Regions from separate parts of the Homo sapiens genome. Here region 1 is linked to region 2. Evidence: promoter capture Hi-C in 16 types of primary human blood cells and fetal thymus (Javierre and others, 2016). All regions are on one chromosome and are shown on one strand. The core of a region is centred on a gene start or on the middle of the fragment in contact, and the rest is flanking DNA. Distances in the headings are between cores, read along the strand shown.

Region 1 (2,730 bases), core at 155-2,654, 760 kb before region 2:
AGTGGCTCACACCTGAAATCCCAGCACTTTGGAAGGCCGAGGCAGGCAGATCTCTTGAGGTCAGGAGTTCCAGACCAGCCTGGGTAACATGGCGAAACCCCGTCTTTACTAAAAATACAAAAAAATATAGCTGGGGATGGTGGCGTGTGCCTGTAATCCCAGCTACCAGCTACTCAGGAGGTTGAGTTGCTTGAACCCAGGAGGCGGAGGATGCAGTGAGCCAAGATCGCACCACTGCACTCCAGCCTGGGTGACAGAGTGAGACTGTCTCAAAAAAAAAAAAAAAAAGAAAAGAAAAATGACTGACAGTAATTGTTACCAAGGATAAAATTTGGCTTTCAAATGAAAATTAGAATTTTGGAAAGCTTAACCTGCCACTGTGAACTTGACAGCTTCCTAATACTTAAAAGCCTTTTCTGATGAGGTCTGTGATGATTCTTAACGTACGTGTGTGTGTGTGTGTGTGTGTGTGTTGATCACATGAGAAAAAACACAAACATATTTGACACGGTATAATGAAATGTGTCTACATTTGGAAGATTTACATAACTCAGTGAACCATTATTTTCTAAATGGCTGATGCATGGTGTTATATAGTCATGCATGGGTAAAAGATCCGTTCAAGTATAAGATAGACCAATGGATTTTAATGTAAGAGAGAACAAAGTCCATTGATAGAATTCTAGATTCCATATCACACCTAATATTCAAGAAATGACTACTTGTCAAGCTCTGGTGTAGTGTCAGAGAATACCCAAAACCATCTGAGGCTACGACTAAAATACTCTTTTCAACTATGTATCTGCGTACGGCTGGATTTTCTTTATATACTTCCACCAAAACAGCATGTTGCAACAGATTGAATGCAGAATATTTTAATGTTTTCCATTAACTTAGATATTAGAAATTTACAAAATGGGAAAAATTCACTCCTCTTATTGATTTAAAACCTACATGTATATAATTAGTTTCATAAAGAGTTACGAGGTTGGATGTCTTGGTCTGTCTAGTGTTGATAGAACACTTGGGGCTGGGTAATTTACAAAGAAAAGAGGTTTACTTAGCTTCTTTCTGCAGGCTGAGAAGTGTGAGAAGTGTGGCATTGGCTGCTGCCTGGCTTCTGGTGAGGGCTTTTTATGCTGCATTGTAACATGGCGGAGAAGGTCAAAGGTGGAAGCAGACACATGCAAAGAGGCAAAACCAGGGGCTTCATCACTTCATAACAACCCATTCCCTCGGGATGCCAGTGCTAATCTAGTCTCTTGACAGAACTCACTACTAGGAGAAAGGCACCAAGCCATTCATGAGGGATTTGCCCCTGTGACCCAAACACCTCCCACTAGGCATCACCTCCCAGTGAGGCCACAATGAGGATCAAATTTCAACATGAGTTGACAACTCAAACCGTAACACTGGGCATGTATGCACCTAAACTTTTACTTCATTTACTCTTCTCAGAAAACGGTCCGGATGTACCCCTTCCAGATTCACAGCATCGCTCTCTCCACCTTTGCCTCGCTCATTGGCCCCTTTGGAGGATTCTTCGCAAGTGGATTCAAACGAGCCTTTAAAATCAAAGTAGGAAAACCGTCTTACGTTCCTCTCATCTCACTCCCTCACCCATCTTCTGCCTTTCTCCCCCTTCCCTGCCCCCTCCAAAATACTAGGCTGTACACCCTGGCATTTAATGTGTGATCTTGACCCATGCACTGAATTTAGGTGAGTTAATTAATAACAATATTTTCAGGAAAATGCAATCGTTGTTTTTCAGTTTATTTGTTAATATATCTTTCTTCAAAAGAACATTTTGGGCCAGGCAGTGGCTCATGTCTGTAACCCCAGCACTTTAAGAGGCCAAGGCGGGAGGATCACTTGAGGCTAGGAGTTAGAAAGTAGCCTGAGCAACATAGCAAGACTCCTGTCTTTATTAAGTAAATGAAATAAGAACATTTTGTAATGCAATAAAATTGTGTCCTAATATAGCCTCACCATTAGATTTCATACTTCTCACCTTCTATTGCCCTCAGCTACTCAGCACAGAAGCCTGACATTGGGGTGGGACCATTAGGCTGGGATTGGTTAGTGGCTGAGCCCAAGTTCACCCATCCTTCCCCTGCCTCTAACAGGACTTTGCCAATACCATTCCTGGCCATGGAGGCATCATGGATCGCTTTGACTGCCAGTATCTGATGGCCACCTTTGTCAATGTATACATCGCCAGTTTTATCAGGTATAGTACCTTTCCATCTGAACCAAGTTGGTGGATTTTTAAGTACGGTGCAATTCTAGAATTTTAGCGGCATCTAAGTTCCAGTGAAAAGCATCCCAAATAATGCAGTTTTCAGTTGTTTCTGCTTACAGATTTTCTGAGGCCTCCTGTCATCTGTTAATAGATAACTCTCTGATCCAGAGATCAGAGCAGCCACTCAGATAATCAGGCCCTGGAAGCTTCCGGGCCCTAGCTCAGTGCTGTTTCTTCACATTCTGTTCCAGAGGCCCTAACCCAAGCAAACTGATTCAGCAGTTCCTGACTTTACGGCCAGATCAGCAGCTCCACATCTTCAACACGCTGCGGTCTCATCTGATCGACAAAGGGATGCTGACATCCACCACAGAGGACGAGTAGGGGCCACCCAGGGCCAGGAGAACAGGAACAGAACTGAGCAGGGGCAGGTCTCCAAGGCAAGCCCAGCTGGTGTGACTTAGACAATGACGAGGCTTCAACTCACT
Region 2 (2,835 bases), core at 194-2,693:
CACCTGTAATCCCAGCACTTTGGGAGGCCGAGGCGGGTGGATCACCTGAGGTCAGGAGTTCGAGATCAGCCTGGCCAACATGGTGAAACCCCGTCTCTACTAAAAATACAAAAAAAAAAAAAAAAGATTAGCCGAGTGTGATGGTGCCAGAGTCCCAGCCACTAGGGAGGCTGAGGCAGGAGAATCGCTTGAACCTCGGAGGCAGAGGCTGCAATGAGCCGAGATTGCACTACTGCCCTAAAGCCTGGGTGACAAAGCAAGACTCCGTCTCAAAAACAAAAACACTGTGGTTGTATTTCTCAGATAAATTAATCCAAATATCCCAATAAATTTTCACCATTAATAAGCTCTTAGGACTTAACAACCTCACCAGCCCTTCCAGAAAGTTATCAAAATCCCACTTCTTTACTTCTATAAAACAGAGCGATACTAGCCAGCAGGTGCACAAACCAAACCTAATTTGGAGTTCTGAGGCCTTGAGCAAATTGCTTTTTAGCAATTTTCCCAGCGTTGAATCCTTTGGTGAGTAAAACGAGGGAAACTCAAAGTGATTCCACACTCTGTGGTGAATTGTCTCCTTCATCTATTCTGTGTATCCTGCTTGGGTAGAGAAGAGGATAGAAAGCCAGACTAGGTAGGAGACGTTTCATTTTTTGTGGGATAGATCCTGACTGGGGGATTAGGGAAGAAGGAGGATCTATGGTGGAAAAAAAGGGGGAACCTGAAGGAGACTCTGGAGACAAGGATGAGATCCTAAAGTGAAGAAAGGAGGGGGTGTCTCTGGAAAGACAGTGAAGATCCCAAGGTCCTAGGGAAAGAACTTCAGGACAGGTGATTAGGGTGTGGAGAGGGAGGCATTGGCACCCTAGGGCCAAGAATGGAATTCTGGGGAAGGAACTCTGTGGAAAGACTGAAAAGGATGCTGAAGGTGGACGGCCAGATATGAAATCATGGAGGGGGCTCCGGGAAAAACAGGAGGGTTAAGGGAGATTATGAGGTTCGAAGACGGGATCCTGGTGGAAAAGCCTTCTGTGACAGAAAGACCCGAGGAGACAACGAGGGCGGGGAATGGGGACCGAGAGAGCCAAGAATGGCACCCTGGCGGAAGAATTCTGTGGAGAAACCTGGAGGGAGGGGGTATCTACAAGGTGGGGGCGGGAGACCCCTAAAATCAGCGATCTGACTTACTTTCTCCGCTGGACTTGTACTGCTTTAAACACATCTTCACGTTTCAGCACCACGAAGTCGCCGTCGCGGATGCGGTGGTCTCCGGGATGCTGTGGTTGTGGGCCCGGCTGCTCCCCTGAGCCCTCCATGACGCTCAGCCGGTCGCCGTGCTCCACGGCGTCCCGCCCCTCCTCCTCGGTTGTCGCCACCGCCAGCCTCACTTCCCACAACCTGGCGCACTAGGAGCCCTCCGACCGGCACCGCCCCCACGTGTTGCACGCCGCTTCCGCTTTCCGGCCCAGACCTCAAGACCGCTTCCGGAAGCCTCTCGGCTTCCGTCTGGCCAAACTCCTTGATTGGCTGCACTCCGCCCCGCCCCTCTCGTCTTGCCGCTTCTTTGAGCGGAAGTTGGATCACTGAAGCGCCAAAAAAGAATTTAGGGGAAGACCTGATTTTCGCTTGAGGCATTTTTGCGGCGCTGTGCGCTACAGACACCTTCTGGAAGCTGCGGTGGGGAAACTGAGTTTCCCGAGCCGTTGAGACAGATGGGGTTCAGCACCGCGCGGGGACGACAGGAAAGCTGCGGCTGAAGAGAACTGCGGACTTGGCAGGAGTCGCCTGAGGAGCTAAGATCCCGGAGACTCTTAGCCCCGTGGTGCTTCTCTACGGGAGGGAGGGAGGGAGAATCCGGCCGGACAGATCTGCGCGTATCCTGGAGCCGGCCCAGTTGTGAACTAGGAGAGCTTTGGGACCTCTGTCCCAAGCAAGTAAGAACTTTAGCCTTAGGAGATGTAAATAAAGTAGTATTTGAAGAAGCACAGGTACCCAACTGTTTCTTTTTACTCTTTCTCCAGTCCTACTTCTTAACGTTTTTTTGAATTTGTTACTGTTCTCAGCATATTGTCTCGTTTGAGAAGGGTATGGCACGCAGCGTTGTTGAAGGAGCGCCTCAGCTTGGGAGGCTGAAAGTTTTATCTCTGTACTGTCGACAAACAACTTTGATCTTGATCGGTTTGCTTAATTTCTTTGAGCATCAGTTTCATAATGTGTAATGCCTAATTATTGGAGCCCTGTCATGCCGTTAAATCGTGAACTTTCTAGTTACTATCTTGTTTTATTAACTAAACCCCTTTTAAGTAAGGATTTGGGTAGAGTATTTGATAATGAATTGCACTGCAGCGTACAGGTATATCTTTATTTACTTGTATACTTAGGATATGAATCATTTTTAAGTAGACGTGTATTTTATAAGAACAGTTTTGGATTTACAGAAAAACTGCACAAAAAATGGATGTGACACTGCAGGATTGACTGTATGTAAGAAGCTATGATGATGTATCCCTAGTGTCTCACAGGCCAGAATTATGTTCATCCTGTCCTGCCCTATAATAAGAAGTCTCAAATACTGCAAATAAGTTTTCATAGAGTTAATTACCTGTCCTATTTTCATTTCTGTAATGGGGACTTGTAAACAGGTACAGTACCTGTCCTTATTTTTAACCTGTGAGCGTCTAGTATACGTAAACCATATTTAATAGTTATTAAACTATTATGGTATACCTTAAAAAGCGATAGAGATTAGAAACTTAACTGCAGAATATTTGGGTCTTGTATCATAGCTGTACAACTTTGCAAGCCTGTTTGCTACTCTTGAACCTAGAATACATT

Evidence for each region. The method cuts DNA at HindIII sites, captures the fragments that hold promoters and counts their contacts. A CHiCAGO score of 5 or more calls a contact.
Region 1: a contact is called between a fragment that was not itself captured here and the fragment with the promoter of TRMT6 in region 2, in 1 of 17 cell types (M0 macrophages). The highest score is 5.3, in M0 macrophages.

The regions. Positions count from the first base shown.
Region 1 is chr20:5,187,609-5,190,338 of GRCh38, forward strand. It overlaps CDS2 (CDP-diacylglycerol synthase 2), which reads left to right. Exons shown (of 13, transcript NM_003818.4): 11 at 1,459-1,578; 12 at 2,127-2,230; 13 at 2,494-2,730. The coding sequence ends at 2,626. Among named protein-coding and RNA genes, the nearest start is that of CDS2, 62 kb to the left of the region's middle. The HindIII fragment of the contact is 2,083 bases long and covers 364-2,446 here.
Region 2 is chr20:5,949,090-5,951,924 of GRCh38, forward strand. It overlaps TRMT6 (tRNA methyltransferase 6 non-catalytic subunit), which reads right to left and starts at 1,444. Exons shown (of 11, transcript NM_015939.5): 1 at 1,189-1,444. The coding sequence starts at 1,316. MCM8 (minichromosome maintenance 8 homologous recombination repair factor) reads left to right here and starts at 1,563. Exons shown (of 19, transcript NM_032485.6): 1 at 1,563-1,934. RefSeq lists an enhancer at 1,440-1,579. The HindIII fragment of the contact is 3,685 bases long and covers 1-2,835 here.